Linked DNA regions of Homo sapiens: regions 1, 2, 3, 4 and 5 are each linked to region 6. Evidence: promoter capture Hi-C in 16 types of primary human blood cells and fetal thymus (Javierre and others, 2016). All regions are on one chromosome and are shown on one strand. Each heading gives the region's core, a stretch centred on a gene start or on the middle of the fragment in contact. The rest is flanking DNA. Distances are from core to core; before and after follow the strand shown. Region 1 overlaps DIP2B (disco interacting protein 2 homolog B). Region 2 holds the start of CELA1 (chymotrypsin like elastase 1). Region 3 overlaps ATF1 (activating transcription factor 1). Region 4 overlaps BIN2 (bridging integrator 2). Region 5 overlaps GALNT6 (polypeptide N-acetylgalactosaminyltransferase 6). Region 6 holds the start of LETMD1 (LETM1 domain containing 1).

Evidence for each region. The method cuts DNA at HindIII sites, captures the fragments that hold promoters and counts their contacts. A CHiCAGO score of 5 or more calls a contact.
Region 1: a fragment that was not itself captured here is called in contact with the fragment with the promoter of LETMD1 in region 6 in 1 of 17 cell types (erythroblasts); the score reaches 5.1 in erythroblasts.
Region 2: a contact is called between a fragment that was not itself captured here and the fragment with the promoter of LETMD1 in region 6, in 16 of 17 cell types (megakaryocytes, endothelial precursors, activated CD4 T cells and 13 more). The highest score is 12.9, in megakaryocytes.
Region 3: a contact is called between a fragment that was not itself captured here and the fragment with the promoter of LETMD1 in region 6, in 3 of 17 cell types (M1 macrophages, erythroblasts and M2 macrophages). The highest score is 7.3, in M1 macrophages.
Region 4: a fragment that was not itself captured here is called in contact with the fragment with the promoter of LETMD1 in region 6 in 14 of 17 cell types (naive B cells, erythroblasts, neutrophils and 11 more); the score reaches 8.2 in naive B cells.
Region 5: a fragment that was not itself captured here is called in contact with the fragment with the promoter of LETMD1 in region 6 in 10 of 17 cell types (naive CD4 T cells, M0 macrophages, naive B cells and 7 more); the score reaches 8.4 in naive CD4 T cells.

What each region holds. Positions count from the first base shown.
Region 1 is chr12:50,730,060-50,734,379 of GRCh38, reverse strand. DIP2B (disco interacting protein 2 homolog B) reads right to left here. Exons shown (of 38, transcript NM_173602.3): 31 at 2,843-3,011; 32 at 1,844-2,014; 33 at 184-245. Among named protein-coding and RNA genes, the nearest start is that of ATF1, 32 kb to the left of the region's middle. The HindIII fragment of the contact is 4,800 bases long and covers 11-4,320 here.
Region 2 is chr12:51,346,638-51,350,397 of GRCh38, reverse strand. It overlaps CELA1 (chymotrypsin like elastase 1), which reads left to right and starts at 3,719. Exons shown (of 8, transcript NM_001971.6): 1 at 3,719-3,760. The coding sequence starts at 3,760. The HindIII fragment of the contact is 1,345 bases long and covers 780-2,124 here.
Region 3 is chr12:50,779,348-50,783,034 of GRCh38, reverse strand. ATF1 (activating transcription factor 1) reads right to left here. Exons shown (of 7, transcript NM_005171.5): 2 at 2,797-2,895. The coding sequence starts at 2,889. Among named protein-coding and RNA genes, the nearest start is that of ATF1, 17 kb to the right of the region's middle. The HindIII fragment of the contact is 3,767 bases long and covers 1-3,507 here.
Region 4 is chr12:51,315,987-51,319,794 of GRCh38, reverse strand. All of the region lies in intron 1 of BIN2 (bridging integrator 2), which reads left to right. Among named protein-coding and RNA genes, the nearest start is that of BIN2, 6.3 kb to the left of the region's middle. RefSeq lists enhancers at 401-570, 851-910. The HindIII fragment of the contact is 3,774 bases long and covers 1-3,215 here.
Region 5 is chr12:51,364,113-51,368,381 of GRCh38, reverse strand. It overlaps GALNT6 (polypeptide N-acetylgalactosaminyltransferase 6), which reads left to right. Exons shown (of 12, transcript NM_007210.4): 5 at 2,803-2,952; 6 at 4,027-4,261. Among named protein-coding and RNA genes, the nearest start is that of CELA1, 20 kb to the right of the region's middle. The HindIII fragment of the contact is 1,990 bases long and covers 1,656-3,645 here.
Region 6 is chr12:51,047,064-51,050,737 of GRCh38, reverse strand. It overlaps LETMD1 (LETM1 domain containing 1), which reads right to left and starts at 2,411. Exons shown (of 9, transcript NM_015416.5): 1 at 2,260-2,411; 2 at 1,553-1,704. The coding sequence starts at 2,381. RefSeq lists enhancers at 1,628-2,166, 2,367-2,416, 2,167-2,705, 2,527-2,796, 2,887-2,966 and 1 more. The HindIII fragment of the contact is 4,204 bases long and covers 1,697-3,674 here.

The DNA of each region.
Region 1 (4,320 bases), core at 1,161-3,660, 320 kb after region 6:
AATTAAAGCTTTCTTATAAATGTAAATCTTATGTATTAATGATAAAAACAAATTCCTTCCCTCTTCCCATTCCCCTCCTGGAATATATGAACAAAAGGAATGAGGGAAAATGCTGGCTTTGAGGTTCCGAATTTGTTATGCTTAGGAACTAGTAGGAAAGGAGCATTAATAAATCTGTTGTACCTGTCATGTCTTAGTGATTTCAGATCCACATACACAGTAGTCGGATCAGGCCCTGAGGTTCCCTAAAGAAAGACAAATCAATGCGTTGTTTAGAATTTCGATAAACTGTATTTCACATTTTCAAACCAAGAAATAATTTAGCCATATACATGAAAAATCCACACTCTTTTCACCTCTCCTCCCCTTGAGAGTAGGCCCCCTGCTCTCACTCTTATCACGGGGACTGTGGCAGCACTGAAACATTTCCATGCTGAGGAGGGCTTTCATCCCTGGATTCAAAGCAGAGGTGACACAGGTCGGCAACCCAGGGACTTGCAAAACCAGTATTGGCCACAGTGACAGCAAGAGGGCTATGATGGGGCTCAAGTTTAAACCATCAAGACCCTTCTGAAAGAAGAAGGTCACAGAAGACCTGAAATAATCCACCCATGTGTGCTATCTTCTTTCACTCACTTTGTCCATGCCTATATTTGCCTTATTATTTTTTTAAGAGACAGGGTCTCAATCTGTTGCCCAGGTTGCTGGAGTGCAGCGGTACAATCACAGCTCACTGCAGCCTCAACCTCCTGGGCTCAAGCAATCCCCTTGCCTCAGACTTCCAGGTAGCTGGGACTAGAGGCATGTACCACTAAGCCCATCTATATTTTTTGCAGGTGAGTGGTGGGGGTAGGGGAGAGATGAGGTCTCAACTATGTTGCCCAGGCTGGTCTCAAACTTCAGGGCTCAAGCAATCCTCCTGCCTTGGCCTCACAAAGTGTTGGGATTATAGCCATGAACCACCACACCTGGCGCTATATTTGCCTTATTACACATTAATACATAAAATTAGTCTCAGTTCTAGTCCCTTTTCTGTTATTTACCCATCAAGAATAACATGACAAAGTTGCCATCTGGGTAGAGAAGAGAATACAAGGTTATTGTTTGGAAAAAAAAAAAAAAAAAGAAAGAAAAAAAATGGTATAGAATATAGAGACAGAAAAACAGAAGGTCAGACCGGGCGCGGTGGCTCATGTCTGTAATCCCAGCACTTTGGGAGGCTGAGGCGGCTGGATCACTTGAGGTCAGGAGTTTGAGACCAGCCTGGTCAACAGGGCGAAACCCTGTCTCTACTAAAAATACAAAAAATAGCCGGGCGTGGTGGTACACGCCTGTAATCCCAGCTACTCTGGAGGCTGACGTGAGAGAACCGCTTGAACCCAGGAGGTGGAGGTTGCAGTAAGCTGAGACTGCACCACTACACTCCAGCTGGGGTGACAGAGCAAGGCTCCGTCTCAAATAAAAAAAAAAAGAAAAAGGAAAAACAGGTCAGATACAAGTAAAATCCAAATAGGACTCAAATCTTTGTGACTCGTCATCATGACCACACGACGATGACTCAAGTAAACACCAACACTGCGCTCACTGTCAGCACTGCTCCAAGAACTCCGAGTTGGCAGCTCAGTGATTGTGCAAGCTGCCTGGGGAAGCACAGTACTGCTACCTTCACCTTACAGATGAGCAAAATGAGACACAAAGAAATCGAGATTTAAAAGCCCGAAGTTCCAAAGCAAGTAAGTGCGGCTGGGGCCCAAGCCCAGGCAGCCTGGCTCCAAAGCCCATGCTCTGGGATACTCCATATTCCTCTCCCATTTGTCAACAGACAAGATTTCATGAGGGTCACCTGTAAACATATTGCTACATTGACTCTTGATCCAAAAGTGGTGCTGACAGCCCGCGGGGACAGCCCGATGTCTTTGAAGAGCTTAGAGAAGGACTGCTGGAGTGCAACGCGGGGCCTCTCCTCCGCCACCACCACACAGGTCCGGACGCAGGAGAGGTTGATCCCTCTGGTCTGCAAGACACCATTATATGGGAGCCAAGTCAGTAGGATCATAAAAGAACTGAACAGGTAAGGCCACTGTTCTAGCTCCTTGGTCAGGAAAAGCCAAGCAATTGTGTATTCTCACCTCAGGCACACAGAGAAAAAAGCAGCTTTCAGAAAAGAAGAAACGGACAAGGCATCCCATTAAAATCACTATCTGCTGGTAAATTTGCTCATTCTCTAGTTCTTTCCTCTTTCTTCTAAAAATCTAAGGCTCTTCAGCAATGTTTTTATCCCTCCTCATTTCTGTACCTTAGATGTCCCCCTATTTGATGAGACTGAGAGAAAAATTAATCTAGAACTCTGGCGATCTAATCTCATCTCTTTTTGCATTCCAAAGATATTTTTCTATCAAAGAAAATTCAGTATCTTCTGACTTTCTCATCTGCAAGTCAGACAGATCATCATTTGACACACACATGAATCAATGAGTTACCCTTATCTTTGGAGATATTCTGAATTCCTAATATTTTGAGGTTTCAAATTCTATTAGGAAAAAAAAGTATTGGAAGCCACAGTTCCCTTTTATGTTTACATAAAGTCTTTCCAGTTAGCCTCCCAACCAGTTTCCGCTTCTTGTCCACAAAGTAAGAATCATATTAAACTGTGGAAGAGTGCACTAAATTAGGAAGGTGGAAGAGATAAACTTGCCAAAGTTTAAAATACACCCTTTTTTAACTGAGTGACTTGAAAAAGGCAAGCAAACATGTCTGTTAGCCCCTGCTCTGGCCCTGTTACGTCCTGGCGCATTTCTTCAGAACCTTTTGGGACTGGCCACCTGCTGGAGCTGCTTCTTACCTTTAGCACTTCCACTTGGTTCCCAAGACCTTTGGTGCAGAGCTCCATCACTGAATAGGAGCAGAAAGTGTCCCTTATTTTGTACTGGTTGACTGTGGAGAGCCAGAGGAAAAGGTTGTTCTCTAACTCCATAGGAGGAATTAAGACAGACTGGTGGCCTGAATAGACACTGCAGTGAAAGAGACAAGAGCTGGAATCATCAATTCATCCTGGATACCTGATGCTTCAGAACCCCACCAATTCCACAGATATTTACTGAGTGTAAAGGACAGTGTAGGGACATATGAGATATAAAGCTCTAAGAATCAGTCTTGTTCCTATGCAACTCGCAAAAGGAGCAACTATGAAATAAAGCAGACTGTGGTAGGTCACTTAAGTCTACATAACATTCTTACAGCTGCCCTCAAGCTAATTAATATGGTCAAGATGATACTAAACATTCTGGAAAGGTAATTCCTAATAACTAATCTTTAAAACCCTGATGGAGTAGCATTTTTTCCTCTTTCTATTCAGAAACCTTATGTGTGGACTGGATTTTATTCCTATGGTTTCTTTTAAAGATGTTTATAGCCATTTTATTGATGCTCTGAATATGAGATGTGAATCAAGAACACTGACATCACAGAATAAAGAGCAGTTCATTCAAGCTCGATAAGCCAGGGTAGGGGAGTGGTAGTGCTTCACTGAGCTGGTGACACTTGAGCTGCAGCTTGAAGAATGAGTATGAATTTGGCAGTGGCCAGAAGAAGTGGGGACGGTAGTGAGGGTGTTCTAAGCAGAGGAACAACATTTACAAAGGCCGATAATTACAGCATGTTTGAAGCGATCAGAAATATTAATAGTATTCAAGTGGCCAGGCACGGTGGCTCACGCCTGTAATCCCAGTACTTTGGGAGGCCATGATGGGAGGATCGCTGGAGCCCAGAAGGTGAAGACCAGCCTGGGTAATAGAGCAAAACTCATGCCTCTACAAAAAAAATTTTTTTAACAATTAGCCAGGCGTGGTGGCACACACCTGTAGTCCCAGCTACTTGGGAGGCTGAGGTGGGAGGATCACTTGAGCCCGAGAGGCTGCAGTGAGCTGTGATTTGTGCCACTGCACTCCAGCCTGGGTGACAGATTGAGACCCTGTCTCCTTTAAAAAAAAAAAAAAAAGAGAGAGAGAGAAAGAAAGAAACAAAAAAAGAAAGAGAGAGAAAGAAAAAGAAGAAAAAGAAAGAGTATTCAACTGAAATCGTAGCATACAGGGTGAATGGAGAAGTAAGGCCAGAAGGGCTAAGGCCAAACTGTGAAAGGGCTTAACCATCCTATGAAGGAGTTTAGACTTCACCCAGCAGGCAGTCATTGCCACTTTAAGTTGGGGCAACACTGACAATATGGACATACGGAGTAGGGATTGGTGATACGAGCCACTGAAACTTGAGAGACAGTTAGGAGAGGCTGCAATAGTTCAGGTGAGAGGTGATAACAGGCTTGAA
Region 2 (3,760 bases), core at 203-2,702, 300 kb before region 6:
CCTTAGTCAAGCCTGGCCTGGCCCTAACAACACCCGTATTCTTCCTTAAAACCCACCCCTCTGACCACTCTCAGCTAACCTAAGGCCCCTACCTCTTAAAACCCTGCTGCTAGCCCTGTGCTACTATCTCCCGGCTCTAGGAGTCTCTCACTCTAGCATTAAAGAGCTAGGCCTCTCTGGGGATCTGTTTCCCACATGAAGAGTACTGGGGCCATTGCCACAAATAGCTAGATGTCCCAGAATTTATTCTTATTTTTAATTACCAAAGTAATACTGTGCCAGCCTGGCCAACATATCGAAACCCCGTCTTTACTAAAAATACAAAAATTAGCTGGGCGTGGTGGTGGGCACCTGTAATCCCAGCTACTCGCAAGGTTGAGGCAGGAGAATCGCTTGAACCTGGGAGGTGGAGGTTGCAGTGAGCCAAGATTGTGCCACTGCACTTCAGCCTGGGCAACACAGAGAGACTCCATTTTGTTTTGTTTTGTTTTTTTTAAAGTAATATTGTGGAGAAAAGTCAAGTGATCTAGAAAAGTGAGGTTTAAAAAAGTGAAATTTGCTACTTGGGAGGCTCAGGTGGGAGGATTGCTGGAGCCCAGAAAGTCAAGGCTGCAGTAATTTGTGATCGTGCCACTGCACACCAGCCTGGGTGACAGAGAGAGACTCTGTTTCAAAAAAATAATAAAGCTATATAGTATTCCATAGCAGGGTTAAACCCAATTTATTCAGTCTTCCTCTACTGATGAATACTTAGCTTTTTTCCAATTTTGCAACAAGCTTTGTGACAAACTATACTGTAACCCACAACCTCGAACATTTATTTTTCTGCCTGTTTTTTTGTTTTGTTTTGTTTTGAGACTGGGTCTTGTTTTGTCACCCAGGCTGGAGTGCAGTGACACAATCATGGCTCACTGCAGCCTCGACCTCCCATGCTCAAGGGATCCTCCCACCTCAGCCTCCCAAGTAATGGGACTACAGGCATGCGCCACCATGTTTTTTTCATGTTTTGTAGAGACAAGGTCTCATTATGTTGCCCAGGCTGATACCAAACTTCTGGCCTCAAGCAGTCCTCCCGCCTTGGCTTCCCAAATTGCTGAGATTACAAACATGAGCCACCATGCCCGACCAGTGTTTATCTCAAAAGAATTCATTCCTAGAATTGGTATGCAATGTCAGAAGAAATGCAATGCCTCAAAATTTAAGTCATTGTCTGGCTGGGCGGGTGGCTCATGCCTGCAATCCCAGTACTTGGGGAGGCTGAGGTGGGTGAATCACTTGAGCTCAGGAGTTTGAGACTAGCTTGGGCAACATGGTGAAACCTCGTCTCTACAAAAAATACAAAAATTAGCTGGGCATGGTGGCTGGCACCTGTAGTCCCAGCTACTTGAGGGGCTGAGGTGGGAGGATCGCTTGAGCCCAGAAGATGGAGGTTGCAGTGAGTTGAGATCATGCCACTGCACTCTAGCATGGGCAACAGAATGAGACCCTGTCTTAAAAAAAGAAAAAATTTAAGCCATTGTCTATGCCTAACCCTAAGAGTAAGATTTTTTTTTTTTTTTTTTTGAGATGGAGTCTTGCTCTGTTGCCCAGGCTGGAGTGCAGTGGCACAATCTCGGCTCACTGCAACCTCCACCTCCAGGGTTCAAGCAACTCTCCCTGCCACAGCTTCCCAAGGAGCTGGGATTACAGCTCCCAAGCACAGGGACTACACCACAACGCCTGGCTAATTTTTGTATTTTCAGTAGAGACGGGATTTCACCATGTTGGCCAGGCTGGTCTGGAACTCCTGACCTCAGGTGATCTGGCCCTGCTGTGATGTAAAGAGGTAACCTTCAGGAGGCCCTCAAGCCTCCTCTTGGACTCCTCATCCTGGGGCTAGAGGCCAGAGGAAGCAGGGAAGCGGGAGGAGAATGACCAAAGAGGCCCCGGGTTCCCTAGCGCAGCTCACCCCTCTTCCCTGAGTGTGCCAGAATGCTGGAGGGCAGGCTGGAGAGCAAGCTCTTCAGGTTATCTGAGCATCAAAGTGCAACTCCTCTGAACAGCTCTAGACACTGAAAAAGTGACTGTGCAGATTCCTTCAAAGAGCATTTTCCAGGTTTCTCCCACCCCTGCAGCCATGAAGCTTGGATTCTGGAGTGTTTAGGCAACAAAAGCCCTGGGTGGGCAGGTGATGGTCCTGCTTCTGTCTAGGTTCCTGGCTTCTCCCTGCCTAATTCCAAACCCCATGCGTTGCTACCATGACTGCTGCACCCACAGTCCTCTGCTCTGGAGCCTGCAGTGGCTCTGATCATTTTGTGGCCAACCCAAGGGTCCTCTGCCCACCTCAAGGCACATTGCAACTCTTTTCTCTCTCTATTTATTTATTTATTTATTTATTTATTTATTTATTTATTTATTTATTTTGAGACAGAGTCTTGCTCTGTCTCCAGGCTGGAGTGCAGCAACCTCCGCTTCCCAGGTTGAAGCGATTCTCCTGCCTCAGCCTCCAGATTAGCTGGGACTGCAGAAGCGCACCACCATGCCCAGCTAATTTTTGTATTTTGTTTTTGTTTTTTTTTAGATGGAGTCTCGCTCTGTCGCCCAGGTTGGAGTGCAGTGGCGCGATCTCGGCTCACTGCAAGCTCCGCCTCCCGGGCTCACGCCATTCTCCTGCCTGCGCCTCCCGAGGAGCTGGGACTACAGGCGCCTGCCACCACGCCCAGCTAATTTTTTGTATTTTTTTAGTAGAGACGGGGTTTCACTGTGTTAGCCAGAGTAGTCTCAATCTCCTGACCTCGTGATCCGCCCGCCTCCGACTCCCAAAGTGCTGGGATTACAGGCATGAGCCACCGCGCCCGGCCAATTTTTGTATTTTTAGTAGACGGGGTTTCGCCATGTTGGCCAGGATGGTCTCGATCTCTTGATCTTGTGATCCGCCCGCCTCAGCCTCCCAAAGTGCTGGGATTACAGGCGTAAACCACCGCGCCCGGCCGCAACTCCCTTCTCTCTCCTCTACGAACTGTGATGAACAAAGCCTTTCATCTCCTGCAGGAACCTCGGCTCCTACCCTCGTTCTCCCTCTGCCCTCCACCCTCCATCTACCCTCATAGCCCTCAGACTGTCTTCACATCCCAAGGATCCCCTCCTCTACCCTGCCTCATATTCTCCTCTGGGAGCCCCTTCTTGGCTCTCCATCTGAGAGGGCCCAAGCCTGTTTCTCAGTACTTTCCTCCCCCAGAATTATCTCCACTGCATCTATTTGGCTTTTGTGTCTGCATTTACACCTATGCCTGCATCCTGGGGGCATGTGCCATCTCCCTCTTTGGGCAGAGAGAGTTGCTGTGTCTTCCTTGCCCTTGCTAACCACTCCCCCCTCTTCCACTATCCCCCTGGCCTCCAGCTGCTAGTGCACAGGGCAAGTCTCTGCATTTATGGTGCCACTGAGGACAACGAGAGAGTGATGGATGACAAGGGGTGCTCCCTTAGAGAAAAACCAGCCCTGGTTCTCCATCTTATTTCTGAAAAAGAGTTTGTTGGATGCTTTTCAATTAAAAGCAGATGATTAATTCAGCCCTGGCCTTGTTCTGTCTTTGAATAACAGATACATTAGTTTACTTGAAAAGAAATATTTTCATTTGTATTTCCATGTCACTTGTGATTTTCCCTGCCTTGCACCCTCAGCCCTGCCAGTTGGCAAGAAGACAGTCAGCTTTGCTGCTAAGAGGAGTATAAAGAGGGCTTGGTCCAAGCAAGAAGGCAGTGGTCTACTCCATCGGCAACA
Region 3 (3,687 bases), core at 375-2,874, 270 kb after region 6:
TGCAAATTTCCTTAATATCTGGCTTAATAGAAAACAGCTGAAATCAGCCGGGTGCAGTGGCTCATGCCTGTAATCCCAGCACTTTGGGAGGCCAAGGTGGGTGGATCACTTGACGTCAGGAGTTCAAGACCAGCCTGGTCAATATGGTGAAACCCCACCTCTACTAAAAATACACAAATTAGCTGGTCGTGGCAGTGGGCACCTGTATTCCCAGCTACTCGGGAGGGTGAGGCAGGAGAATCACTTGAACCCAAGAGGCAGAGGTTGCAGTGAGCCAAGATCGCACCACTGCACTCCAGTCTGGGCGACAGAGCAAGACTCCGTCTCAAAAAAAAAAAAAAAAAAAAGGCTGGCCACAGTGGCTCACACCTATAATCCCAGCACTTTGGGATGCTGAGGATCACTTGAGCCCAGGAGTTTGACACCAGCCTGGGCAACATAGTGAGACTCTGTCTCTACTAAAAAAAAAAAAAAAAAAAAGGCCGGGTGTGGTGGCTCAGGCCTGTAATCCTAGCACTTTGGAAGGCTGAGGCGGGTGGATCACGAGGTCAGGAGATCAAGACCATCCTGGCTAACACGATGAAACCCTGTCTCTAGTAAAAATACAAAAAATTAGCCGGGCGTGGTGGCGGGCGCCTGTAGTCCCAGCTACTCGGGAGGCTGAGGCAGGAGAATGGCGTGAACCTGGAAGGCGGAGGTTGCAGTGAGCCGAGATCGCGCCACTGCACTCCAGCCTGGGCGACAGAGCGAGACACTGTCTCAAAAAACAAACAAACAAATAAACAAACAAACAAAAAAAACAGAAAAAGAAAACAGCTGAAATCTCTTATCTGATTCTACATTAATTATGTTATCATACATTGTTTTGGTTGAATTATATGAAGAAAATCTGCCCTCACATAGATATGCAATTAGAAAAGATGTGTAGTGTTTTAAAAGCCTTTTCATTTCATTGTATTCTTTGATACAGCAGCAAAACTCAGCAAGTTATAGTTTCTTAAAGGTTATTTGCCATGTACAGTCTGAACTTTGTGTATTGTTAACATTAAAATCCGTTAGTCTCATCTTGCACTTTAAATGGCTCTTACACTCATGCATGATTTTTTTTTTTTTTTTTTTGGAGATAGGGTCTCACTCTGTCACCCAGGCTGGAGTGCAGTGGCATGATTATAGCTCACTGCTGCCTTGAACTCCTGGGCTCAAACAATCCTCCTGCTTCAGCCAAGTAGCTGTTACTACAGGTGTTGTAGTGCCACCACACCCAGCTAATTTTTAAAATTTTTTGGCCGGGCACGGTGGCTCACGCCTGTAATCCCAGCATTTTGGGAGGCTGAGGTGGGTGGATCACCTGAGGTCAGGAGTTTGAGACCAGTCTGGCCAACAGGTGAAACCCCGTCTCTACCAAAAATACAAAAAATTAGCTGGGTGTGGTGGTGGGCGCCTGTAATCCCAGCTACTCGGGAGGCTGAAGCAGGAGAATCGTTTGAACCCGGGAGGCGGAGGTTGTAGTGACCCGAGATCGTACCACTGCACTCCAGCCTGAGCGACAGAGCGAAACCCTGCCTTGAAAAACAAAAACAAAAACAAAGAAAACAACTCTAAATACAGTTAGGCCTCTTTATTCATGGGTTCTGCATCCATGAGTTTCACATCTGTGGATTCAACCAACCACAGATTGAAAATATTCAGGAAAAAAAATTTCTCTATACTGAACATGTACCGACTGTTTTTCTTGTCATATAGTATAACTATTCACATAGCATTTACATAGTATTAGGTATTAAAAGTAATCTAGAAATGATTTAAAGTATACAGGAAAATATGTAGGTTATATATAAATACCATGCCGTTTTCTATCAGGGGCTTTAAGCATCACAGATCTTGGTATCTGTGGACGTCCTGGAACCAGTCTCCCACAGATACTGAGAGATGACTATATACTTCGTTTAAAAGAAAATAAAACTAAATGATCTTGACAAGATATTTAAAGTCCACCTTCTTTTCTTATATTTTAACATTTTATACAGTCTTTTTTGCTTGTTTTTCTATTTTATTTTTTATTTATTTATTTTTATGATATGGAGTCTCGTTCTATTGCCCAGGCTGGAGTGCAGTGGCATAGTCTGTGCTCACTGCAACCTCCACCTCCCAGGCTCAAGCGATTCTCCTGCCTCAGCCTCCCGAGCAGCTGGGATTACAGGCAACCGCCACTGCACCTGGCTAATTTTTGATTTTTATTAGAGACAGGGTTTCGCCATGTTGGTCAGGCTAGTCTTGAACTCTTGACCTCGTGATCCGCCCGCCCTGACTTCCCAAAGTGCTAGGATTACAGGCGTGAGCCACTGCGCCTGGCCTTTGCTTGTTTTGTTTTTTTTTTTTTTTAACATTAATGCCAGGTCTGGTGGCTCACACCTGTAATCCCAGCATTTTGGGAGGCCAAGGTGGGTGGGTTACCTGCGGTCAGGAGTTCGAGACCAGCCTGGCCAACATGGTAAAACCCCATCTCTACTAAAAATACAAAAAATAGCCAGGCGTGGTGGCAGATGCCTGTAGTCCCAGCTACTTGGGAGGCTGCGGTAGGAGAATTGTTTGAACCCAGGAGGTGGAGGTTGCAGTGAGCCGAGATCATGCCACTGCACTCCAGCCTGGGCAACTAGAGCAAAAATCTGCCTCGAAAAAAAAAACCCAAAAAACAAAAACCAAAATAAAACACATTAATAATCAGTCTGAAACGAGATTAATCTGCATATAAAATATTCCTAACAAGCTCAGTATTTTGGCCAGTCCCTCCCTTACCTGTTGAGCAATATGAGAAATGTGAGCTCCCTGAACTGCTGAACCAGGTTGAGGTGCTGTCTCTGACGTGGTACTCTTGTGGGAATCTTCCATAATCAACTATAAGGGGGAAAAAAGTCCGTTAAAATTAAATATGATACAGAATGTTTACAGTATACTATAGAATCATATAAAAATTGATCATTTAGTTGCCTCAATGGAAAAGAACTGGTAGCAATGGTATAGAGATAGAAAGGGGACTGTGCATTTTCTTTAAATTTTTTGAATTTTGGCCCACAAAAACATGTTTAAGTTTAATAAAAGGCACATATAAACATAAATTATGATGACTAAGTTTGCAAACGTTATCCCATTGAAGAATGATGACAGTCCTCCTGTCTATGGACACAAACATATCTGTCTCTAGTCTAGGGAAGTTTCTAAGTGTACATATAGTTTTTTATATAGAGAATTTACTGAGTAAAAGTTGAACAAATAAATAAAACTATACCTAAGGAGGTTCTAAATAAGTTCTAGAAAACTTAGATAATCAACTTCAGGATATGTAGGCTAGGTAAGAATGAGAATAAATGAGCTATGAGAGATCAAATACGGCAAATAGGGAGAGAACCACTAACAAGCTGGTAAAAGATTTAGACAGAATTTAATGTTTTTAAAGGTTACCTGGAAAGGCCAAAAAAAAAAAAAAGAGAGAGGGCTAGCCAGAAAGCTTATGAAAAGATGCTCAATATCACTATTAAGGAAATGCACTGAAAACTACAACGAAATATCACCTCATACATACCCATTAGAATGGGTAATATCAAGACACAGAAAATACTAAGTGTTGGCAAGGATGTGGAGAAACTGGAACCCTGGTACACTACTGTGCTGGTGGGAATGTAAAGTGGT
Region 4 (3,808 bases), core at 79-2,578, 270 kb before region 6:
TAGCCACCAAAGATATATGTAGTAATTTTTTTTAAAGCTCTATTTCCACCCCAACCCTGATCTACAGAAAAGTTATAAATAATCAATGAACACTGGAATATTTTTCATGCAGATTCACCAAGTGTTAACGTTTTGCCACATTTACTTTTTTGCCTTGCTCTTGCTCTTTCTCCTTAAATATCTATATTCTAATTTAGCTGCCAGGCCAGATAAATTGGGACAGAATTCTCAAAGCAGGATTTTAGGGATTAGCATTATATGGGTTTTCATTAGGAAGTGATCCAAAAGTAGAATTTATTCATTGTTTCAACAAACATCTGTTTAGCATCTGTACACCCTGTTCCCTCAAGGGTCTTTCGTTGGGAAGAACACCCATGACACAGTATAAGTGCCCTAACATGTACCTGTTGCTTATGGCAACAAATTACTTTGGCTCCAGAGTACTGGGGTATGTTTCAGGGTGGTAACACCTTTTCACTTTCAGAGTTGGAGGGTGAGGAAGTTTCTCTCAGTACCCCCCAACCCCCGACCCCACACTCTCCAAGCCTTTTGGCCTTGAGCCTTTTGGGGATTGGGGAGATTGGTCTGCCCCAGTCATCCCTTACACTGACTCTAGACTGAGTTTTCTCTTTTCTGTTTTTTCTGTCCTCTCCACCTAAGAAGAACCAAATTAGGGACAAAGGAAGGGAGGGGTAGCAGAAAGGAAGTTAAGAGCTGCACTTACCACTAACAAGGTGGTTTTGCAACTTTCTGGTAGAGAACAGTGTTTTGTTAGCTGAGAAGGGTGGAGCCAGGGAGGATGGCAGACTGCACATCCAGGGCTGGGTGGCAAGTGAGGTGCAGTTAGAGACGGACAAAAACAGATATGGCCAAACCAAACAGATATGGCCAAACCAAAAATATAAGCATTTACAGGCAAGGGAGCAAAACTAAACATAATGACAGTGAGTACCTATTGAGTGCTCTTTGTAGGGCAGCTCTGAGAAAGCAATTTACATGCAAAATATCATTTAATCCTCCTGACAACTCAAGGAGATAAATATTATCTAATGGGGGAAAGGGAGTTCTGTAAACCGAGGCTCAAAAGTTTTAATGACTTGCCTGAAGACTTACAGTCAGTAAGTAGAAAGGCCAAGATAGGAGCCCATATCTGTCTAACTCCAGAATGCTTGATCTTATCCACTACAGCAAGAGCTCCAGGAATGAGACACACCCCCGGATTAAGAATGGAGATACTGGTGGCCCAGTGGCTCACGCCTATAATTCCAACACTGGGAGGCTGAGGTGGGCAGATCACCTGAGGTCAGGAATTCAAGACCAGCCTGGCCAACATGGCGAAACCCTGTCTCTACTAAAAATACAAAAATTCGCCAGGCGTGGTGGTGGGCACCTGTAATCCCAGCTACTTGGGAGGCTGAGGCAGAAGAATGGCTTGAGCCGGTGAGGCAGAGGTTGCAGTGAGCTGAGATGGCATCACTGCACTCCAGCCTGGGCGACAGAGCAAGACTTGTCTCAAAAAAAAAAAAAAAAAAGAATGGAGATATGAATCAGAGTCTCTCCACAGAACCTGCCACACTCCCCAGATCTGGGCACTCTTGCATGGCATTCAAAGCCCTTCACAATGAAACTCCAGTCTCCCTTTCTAGCTTCATTCCCCACCACTCCCCATAACAGCCATGCTGAACCAGCTAGTGAAGCTGTGTACTCCTATGATTTTCCTGATGCTGTTGTCTCTAACTGGAATCCTCTTTCTGCTGTCACCCTTTATACTCTATTTCTTTTTTCTTTTTCTTTTTCTTTTTTTCTTGAGACGGAGTCTTGCTCTTTTGCCTAGGCCGGACTGCGGTGGCGCTATCTCGGGTCACTGCAAGCTCCGCCTCCCGGGTTCATGCCATTCTCCTGCCTCAGCCTCCTGAGTAGCTGGGATTACAGGCACCCACCACCACGCCTGGCTAATTTTTTGTGTTTTTAGTAGAGACGGGGTTTCATCGTGTTAGCCAAGATGGTCTCGATCTCCTGACCTCGTGATCCACCCGCCTCTGCCTCCCAAAGTGCTGGGATTACAGGCGTGAGCCACCGCTCCCGGCCTTTTTTTTCTTTTTTAATTTAATTTAATTTAATTTTTTGTTTTGTTTTTTGAGACAGAGTTTCGCTCTGTTGCCCAGGCTGGAGTGCAATGGCGCAATCTTGGCTCACTGCAACCCTTTAACCGATTCTCCTGCGTCAGCCTCCCAAGTAGCTGGGATTGCAGGCGTGCACCACCACACCCAGCTAATTTTTTTTGTATTTAGTAGAGATGGGGTTTCACCATGTTGGTCAGGCTGGTCTCAAACTCCTGACCTCAGATGATCCACCCGCCTTGGCCTCCAAAAGTGTTGGGATTATAGGCGTGAGCCACTGCGCCTAGCCCCTATACTCTATTTCAGTCTAGAAAATCCTACTCCAAGGCTCCACTCATTCAGTCCTATATCCTCTCCTAGATCAGTCTTACTCTCCTTCCTGTTACAATTATTAAATATCTAGTTCCTGGATACTGAGAAATCCAAATGAACAAAGCAAGTACCTAAACCTTAAGGAGCCTATAGTTTAGGAGAATAAACAAATAGAAATAATAAAACAGGCCGGGCACAGTGGCTCACACCTGTAATCCCAGCACTTTGGGAGGCTGAGGCGGGCGGATCACCTGAGGTCGGGAATTCGAGAGCAGCCTGACCAACATGGAGAAACCCTATCTCTACTAAAAATACAAAATTAGCCAGGCGTGGTGGCACATGCCTGTAATCCCAGCTACTCAGGAGGCTGGGGCAGAAGAATTGCTTGAACCTAGGAGGCGGAAGTTGTGGTGAGCTGAGATCACGCCATTGTACTCCAGCCTGGGCAACAAGAGCGAAACTCTGTCTCAAAATAATAATAATAATAATAGTAGTAGTAGTAATAAAACAACAATTGGACTGTATACAAGATACAGAAGTTGCAAGCACTTGGAAGGGAGTGAATAATCGATCAATGGGATGAAGTGGATGTGGTTAAGTATCACAAAAGATACGGAGTTGAACTGGGTTTTGTAAGATACTTGCCTGGCAGACAAGGTGAGGAAAGGCATTCTAGAAAGAGGGACCAGCATCTATGACAAGCAACAGTGTGGGTTATTTGGGAAACTAAAAAAGTGTTAGGAAAGGAGACCTGCAGAGAGGAGGAGTATGAGAAGTGAAGCTTAATGTAGCCTTGGGACCTGCATGCATGCTAGAATTTGAACTATTACTTAAAGATACATATTGGACTTTTTTTTTCTCTTTTTTTTGAGACAATTTCCCTCTGTCACCCAGGCTGGAGTGCAGTGACACAATCTTGGCTCACTGCAACCTCTGCCTCACAGGCTCAAGTGATTCTCATGCCTCAGCCTCCCAAGTAGCTGGGATTACATGCGTCTGCCACCACTCCCGGCTAATTTTTTTTTTTTTTTTTTGTATTTTTAGTAGAGACGGGGTTTTACCCTGTTAGCCAGGTTGGTCTCGAACTCCTGACCTCAAGTGATCCGCCTGCCTCGGCCTCCCAAGGCCGGGCGCATGAGCCACCGCGCCTAGCCCATATTGGGCATTTAATAAAAATTTGTTGAACAGATGAATGGGGAACCATTAGAAGATTTTAAGGAGCAGCAGCATAGTAGACCTATTGCAGCAGGCCAGGTAATAAACAGTGAGGGCCTAGACTAAGGCTGTGGCAGTGAGACCAGGGGAATAAGATGGTTTCTAGAGATGGACATGGCGAGGGATTCAATGAAGAGGATGAAGAAGTAGTTGAAGGCAAC
Region 5 (4,269 bases), core at 1,401-3,900, 320 kb before region 6:
GAAGGAAAAAGCTGAAATTCCAAATTATAGAGACTTTCCTTCTCCTAGGCGCCACTCTCCAGGACAGTGACTAAAGAACAGCTTCAACAAACCCCTTTCTCTCCCTTTCCCTCCCGGGATCTCACACACAGGGAAATGGCAAGGCCTTGGGTGACTGCGAGAGGAAGCAGAGACCACCTTGAAACTCGGGTGCATTAAGTCCTTGGCCTTCTCATCTTAATCTGCTCCAGAATAAAAAAATTTAAAAAAAAAAGTCCGTGGCCTCACTGGTGGTCAAGAGACCACCTTGAAACTCAGGTGCATTAAGTCCTTGGCCTTCTGATCTTAATCTGCTCCAGAATTAAAAAATTAAAAAAAAAAAAAATTCCATGGCCTCACTTCCCCTGGAGGGAGAAGGTGGGGAGTCCTCACATGCAGACTGGCTAGGATCCTGCTGCTGCCCTTTGTGCTTCTGCCACCCTGGGCTAGTCACTTTGAGTCTTACTTTCCCCATCTATAAACACTGGGGACAATACTCCCTGTTTCATAGAGTTGTTAACTATCATAGAGAAGATTAAATAAAGAAGTCACCATGAAGACACCTACCTCACCCACACCGGCACACACTCCAGCTCAGTGCTGGGTTATTGTGTGCGTGCATTTGTGGGAGATCAATTGCATGCAACCCCCTAAGCTGCTTAATTTCAGGACCTGCCGTTTGTAGAATGCTGCATTCAGAGCAAGGCCCAAGCTCTGGGCTGATCCCACAGTCCAAAAGGAAAAGGACACACAATTGTCACATCTGTCCCCCACATCTGAAACTGCAGGCAACTCCATTCTGCACAGAACAGAACCGTGGCAGAGATAAACCAAAATGGCAGTTAGTAAAACATAGTAAGGTTTGGAATTCGGTATGTTTCAAGATGGACTGCTTCAGAATAGAGCTATTCTTCGTTTGTTTTTTGTTTTGAGACAAGTCTTGCTATGTCACTCAGGTTGGAGTGCAGTGGCATGATCTCAGCTCACTGCAACCTCCACCTCCTGGGTTCAAGCAGTTCTCCTGCCTCAGCCTCCCGAGTAGCTGGGTTTACAGGTGTGCGCCACCACACCTGGCTAATTTTTGTTTGTTTGTTTTTGGTTTTTTTGAGACGGAGTTTCGCTCTTGTTGCCCAGGCTGGAGTGCAATGGTGCAATCTCGGCTCACTGCAACCTCTGCCTCCCAAGTTCAAACGATTCACCTGCCTCAGCCTCCCGAGTAGCTGGGATTACAAGCATGCGTGCCCAGCTAATTTTGTATTTTCAGTAGAGACAGGGTTTCTCCATGTTGGTCAGGCTGGTCTCGAACTCCCAACCTCAGGTGATCCACCTGCCTCCGCCTCCCAAAGTACTGGGATTACAGCCATGAGCCAGCGCGTCTGGCCTAATTTTTGTATTTTTAATAGTGGCAGGGTCTCACCATGTTGGCCAGGCTGGTCTCAAATTCCTTGGCTCAAGTGATCCATCTGCCTTGGCCTCCCAAAGTGCTGGGATTACAGGAGTGAGCCACCGTGCCCAGCCAGAATAGAGCTATTGTTAATGCTCTGAGGATTTCAGACTAAATTACAGGGCCATGAACTAAAACTCTTCTTTGAAAGGAGCTGGAGGTCTCAGTAGAGACATCTTCCCTTCAAAAAGCTTTCCCCGCTCCTCAAATCCAGGAGATTTGGCCCTTCTTTGGGACCCACACCCCAGCACTACCTCTGTTAGATCATGGATCACCTGCCCTGGAATTGCCTGTTTCCTGGTCAGCCTTGCTTCTGGGTGGTTTGTTCCTTAGGACAAATGGTCAAGCCGGCTGGGCTCGCCACTGTGCCTGGTCCGTGGTAGGTGCTTGGTGCAAGTATTTTCTTAATATAATTAAAAAGCTGCTGGGCATGTTTTCACCTTAAAGAATTCTATCTGCAGAGGAGGTTACAAAGGGGATTAGAGTCAGATGTCCTGCTGCTGATCCAGCAAGCAAGGAGTCACCATTTGTGTATGCCCACCCATCGACGTTACCGTGAAGAGCCTGGGAGACAGGGAATCCTAGACACTGGAAAACAACCGTGCAATGGAGCTGTGGAATTGCAGCTCTGGAAGATGGTGGCTGAGAGGGTGGAGAAACTGAGGGAGGCATCTGAGAGCCTCTGTCAGAATTTTGTACTTGGGCCGGGCGTGGTGGCTCATGCCTGTAATCCCAGAACTTTGGGAGGCCAAGGCAGGCGAATCACTTGAGGCCAGGAGTACGAGACCAGCCTGGCCAATATGGTGAAATGCTATCTCTACTAAAAATGTAAAAATGAGCCAGGCATGGTTGCACACACCTGTAGTCCTAGCTACTCAGGAGGCTGAGGCAGGAGAATCACTTGAGCCCAGGAGGTGGAGGTTGCAGTGAGCCAAGATCACGCCATTGCACTCCAGCCTGGGTGACAGAATGAGACTCCATCTCAACAACAACAACAAAAAGTTTGTACTTGATACGTGACCACAGAAACACAACTCTGAGGTGCTGTCCCTGACATTAGAGAGGGTGCCCAGGTGAACAGGCATAGGATCTAGCACCACAGAGCCAGAGCCCTGGTGAGGCAGTTTTGACCACAGACAGGGCTTCTTTCTTCCTCTCCCCATCTTCCCTGTTAACCTCCTTCCCCAGCTCCGGCTTCTGTGGAATGGCTCAGTACAGCAGGTGTTGGGGGTTTAAAATTCAGGCCTGCTAGAGGCCTGAGAGCCCCTAGCTTGGTGCCCACAGGGGATTGGGTATACAGCAAAGTGGTGGACTGGCCACAATGACACTGTCCCTTCCAGAGCACCTAAAGGAGAAGCTGGAGCAGTACGTGAAGCAGCTGCAGGTGGTGAGGGTGGTGCGGCAGGAGGAGCGGAAGGGGCTGATCACCGCCCGGCTGCTGGGGGCCAGCGTGGCACAGGCGGAGGTGCTCACGTTCCTGGATGCCCACTGTGAGTACCAGGGCACCGGCCTGGGTGTAACCTGGAGGCTCCCTCCCTGCTAGAATGAGCCAGGGCCACAGCCTCCCCAAGGCCCCTTCCTGTTCTCTCTTCCGGGAGTGAAGGAGGCTTGGGACCCACTCCAGGTGCCTCTACCCCTTTCTCACCCCAATCCCAAGGATGTTTCATCAAGAAGACAAACATCCCTAAAACAACTGGTGACCCCAAAATCACTGGAAGTGATTTCCAGTGATCACCGGGGCCCCGGACATTCATCCCTCCCTGTACTCCCATCTGCACCTTGCTCTGAGCTTGGCCCCTCAGAGAGGCCTCCTGCTATGACAGAACTGGCTTGTTTGGGGCTTTCTTCTAGGGCAACATGGAGCCAGGAAGGCCTCCTTCTTGCCCAAAACCAAAACACTTCCCCACTGTTGTGGAGGATGAAATATTTTCCCTAGGAGTGGTGATATATATTAGGGGAAGCTCTAGTCTTGGAGTCAGAATTCTTGGTTTGCATTCTGACCCTGCCCCACTAACAGCCTCAGTTTCCTCATTTATAAAATAGGAATGAGGATACTAACCTTACTGAACAGAAATATTACTCTGAGGGCCGAATGAAGTAATAATACGTGCAGAAGCTCACTGAAAATCTCAAGGAGCTAGACAAATGAAAGAGATTATTCTTCTACAATTAGGGCTGAAGCTTGACATGCGGATGCCCCTGGGAGGGGGAACACCCTCTTCTGAAATCCACACGTGGGCCCGGAGGGCTGGGCCAATGGATCGGCTGGAACCCCGGAAGATACCATCCAGGGCCTCCCTGTGCTTTTGGGTCATCTGAGTTGACCATGTTACTCCCCTGAGACCTCCATTCTCCCTGCCAAAGCTGCCTCCGCCTTTGGGGGTAGAGGGGTGGTAGAAGGGTTTTAGGAAATTCTGTGTGCTCCCTGTAGCTGTGGGGCTTGCTGCCTGTAACCCAGGAGTAGGTGGACTGTCTCTTATCCTCCTGGGCATTCCCTCCAGGATGCAGCTTGGGCTCTGCTGTGGGCAGGGCCCTGACTGCTGCCTCCTGGTTGGGGCCTGCAGGTGAGTGCTTCCACGGCTGGCTGGAGCCCCTCCTGGCTCGAATCGCTGAGGACAAGACAGTGGTGGTGAGCCCAGACATCGTCACCATCGACCTTAATACTTTTGAGTTCGCCAAGCCCGTCCAGAGGGGCAGAGTCCATAGCCGAGGCAACTTTGACTGGAGCCTGACCTTCGGCTGGGAAACACTTCCTCCACATGAGAAGCAGAGGCGCAAGGATGAAACCTACCCCATCAAGTAAGGAC
Region 6 (3,674 bases), core at 1,162-3,661:
CCGGCTTCTTGCATCTATTTCTTTAATGCTTTCATATTTATCAATGATTTACATGTCATTATATGATGTCTCGATTGTCTTCAAAATAATACATAAGGCAAGTATATAAATAGGATTGGCAGCCATGAGTTATGATAATGAAGTGAGGTTAATACATGGAAGTTTGTTACACTACTCTCTCTACATCTGTGTGTGTTTAAAAATTTCCATAATAGTTGGCCGGGCGCGGTGGCTCAAGCCTGTAATCCCAGCACTTTGGGAAGCCGAGGCAGGCGGATCACGAGGTCAGGAGTTAGAGACCAGCCTGGCCAATATGGTGAAACCCCACCTCTACTAAAAATAAAAAAATTAGCCTGGTGTGGTGGCAGGCGCCTGTATTCCCAGCTACTTGGGAGGCTAAGGCAGGAGAATTGCTTGAATCCGGGAAGCAGAGGTTGCAGTGAACCGAGATCATGCCATTGCACTCCAGCCTGGGCGACACGGTGAGACTCAAAAAAAAAAAAAATTCATAATAAAAAGTTTAAAAACAAACACAAATGCTTTCATCCCTTTCTCTCATTTGATCCTATTTATCTACATGAAAACAGAAAAAGCAGCCAATTTTATCTCTACAAATTAAGGATAAGTAATTTTTCAAGTCCATGAAGCTAGTAATAATTATGATAATGTTCAGATTTGACAATGTAGTTTATTATAGTGTTATGATAAAAGCATAGAGCATATTATAGATTTGGTGCAAAAGCAATTGTGGTTTTTGCCACTGAAAGCCAAAAGCCGCAATTACTTTTGCACCAACTTATAATACTGTTAGGTAACATTTAGATGAAAATAAGTTAACATTTACTTGGCACTTACTAGGGATCAGGACCTGTTCTAGGTACTTTACATGTATCAATTTTTAAAGTCTTCACAATCATGTGATAAATAGGTAGGTTCCATTACTCCCATTTTACACATAAGAAAACCAAGGAAAGAGGGGTTAATTAATTAGTCCAATCGCACAGTGACGAACTGGGATTTGAATCAGGCAATCTGGCTCCAGAGTAGACACTTGACACGATACATATCTTCTCCTAGTAACTAAGGATCTCTGATTTGAAACAAAACATTTAGAAACCAAGTATTATGTAGGGCTATTGCCACTACAACATACTACCTAATATAGATTCATAACAAGGGTTAGACCTCATTTTCCTATGGGTAAGTCAACTGATACATCACAGGGCAGGTCTATACAGCCACAGATCCCTGCCGTGTGCAAGGCAAAAAATTTCTACTATAGCCAGGTGTGTGGTTAAGAAAGTACGAGAACATACCTATATTCTCCCTCCCTCATGTTGCTGTCATAAGTTGTTTCTCATAACATCTTTCTAGAAACATTCTCAAGAAGTGCTAATTTATAGGAATTAGTTTAAGGCGCAGGCATTTATGAAATATAAGATATCTCGGCTCACATCCCCATAGCAGAACCTGCAAATGATCTTATTTATGCTAACTCTTTGACCCTGCCCAAGAGCTGATTCCGGAATTTCTATTGTAGTTTCGTTTTTACCTTTCATGAAGATTGTGTACAGGACATAGAAGCGGGGGAAATGACGACCCAAGAAACGATGGTATTTCCCATTAATCGCTTTTGTCTTGGTTACCACATAAGACATCAAGTTCTTCACATCTGCCTTTGGAGAAAGGTGAAGCTTTGAAGACCTACAAGGAAGATCAAAGAGACTATCTGGGAATCAGTCCTAGAAGCTCCCTCACGCCTTGAGTCCCTAATGTAAAGCAGGAGTCTCGGAGATTGTATCCCAAGGCTTGACACTTCTGAAATCCAAGGAAGGTCTTGGGGTCAAGAAGAGATAGGCAATCAGACTGTGAAACACAAATCAGGCAAAGGCCAGGCAGGAAAGTAACTCAGGGTATGCCTCTGGAGAGAGCGCAATGCCTGTGGGACAATTTGAACTGCAGGCTAAGTCAGAAAGAGGTGGAATCGAGATAGCAGCGGTAAAACCTGAGCCGAAAAAGTGAGGCTGAAAGATGAGCTCAGGACACGCGGGGAAACCAGACAATATGGGGCACTGAGAGTACAGAGGGTCAGGAAGCCGGGTCACTAGTGGGGATCGGAGTTTGAATCCTGAACAGAAGAATAAAAATTCCAGGGCCAAGGCGTGGAACTCTGAGAATTAAGAGACAGAATGCAAGCAAGGTTGAGACACTGAAAGAGCCTGGACGTCAAAAATGCTTTTCTCGCTACAGGTCCCTCACCGAGGGGCCCCCCAAGCCAGGCCAGAGCGACCAAGTTGCAGCCTCCGGGTGACAAAATGTCCAGGGGTGACTGCCGAGCCCCACACAGCCGACCGAGCCCAGCACACCCTGGAGAGCGCCATCTTCACAGCGAGAGAAGCGGGAGAGAAGAGGTTGTCTTTGGGTCAAAGTTAACCGTACGTCGCGTTCGTTCGAAGACGCATGCGTCTTTTCTGAGCGCTGATTGGTAGCCATAGCCTGCTTGGCTCCAGCACAAGCCAGGAGAGGGAAGGACTCAAAGACTAAGTGCGGAAGGAGGGCCAGGATTGGACACAGCAGTACTTCCAGGTTTAAAGGCGCCGGAAACAGGGTGTCCCAGAGGGAGCGAGTTCTTATGCCACTGGTGTGGGTTTGCGACGCGGAGGGCACCCTGTCCTTGAGGCGCCCAGTGACCCTCCGCGATTCCTTAGGGCCTCAGGGCTTCCCAGCGCCGCCCTTGCCCTCTGCCTGGACTCGGGGCGTCGGAGCCTCGACTGTTAGGTAGCAGATGTCAGTTTGCCAGTGCCTGGGGCTAGGAGGACCCGCGGCGCCCTCTAATGGTGCCGGCGTGGATAGGCCGGGAACTGTCCACTTTCCAGTCAGTCTGGCGGCGAAGGTTGGAGGCCTGGGAGCGGCCCCTGTGCGGACTGAGTACACTTTTTCCTCTCTTTGTCGTTTCCAGAACTAAGTTTGTGGGAAAATGGTTTTCGTTAAGCACCTACCGAAGACCAAGCTCTGTCTCAACTTAAATGTTACTATTCTGAGAGGATTTCTGTGACCACCCTATCTGAAGCAGTGCCGGCGAAAAGGACACACTTCACACTTATTCTCATGTTACTCTGTTTTGTTTTGTTTTGTTGTTTTGTTTTTGTGACAGTTTTGCTCTGTCGCCCCGGCTGGAGTGCAGTGGCGCGATCTTGGCTCACTGCAGCCTCCGCCTCCCGGGTTCAAGCGATTCTCCTGCCTCAGCCTCCCGAGTATCTGGGATTACAGGCGTCCGCCACCACGCCCGGCTAATTTTTGTATTTTTAGTAGAGACGGGATCTCACTATGTTGGTCAGGCTGGTCTTCAACTCCTGGCCTCAAGTGATCCGCCAGCCTTGGCCTCCCAAAGTGCTGGGATTACAGGCGTGAGCCACTGCACCCGGCCTTGTATTTTCTTTGTAGCATCTGTCACTTACAGTGTTTATGTATTTGTGTCCTTGTTTGACAGCTCCCTGAACTAGAATGAGGGTAAGCATCTTCTCTGCCTTGTTCATTGCTGCACCTCCAACACTAGGTGCCTTACTTAGCACATAGTAGGTGTTCAGTAAACATGTTTGAATAGATTCATACTTGAAACTAAGAAGGATTCCCAGAAGTGGTACTTAACTGCCTCCAAGAATTAACAGTCCTCT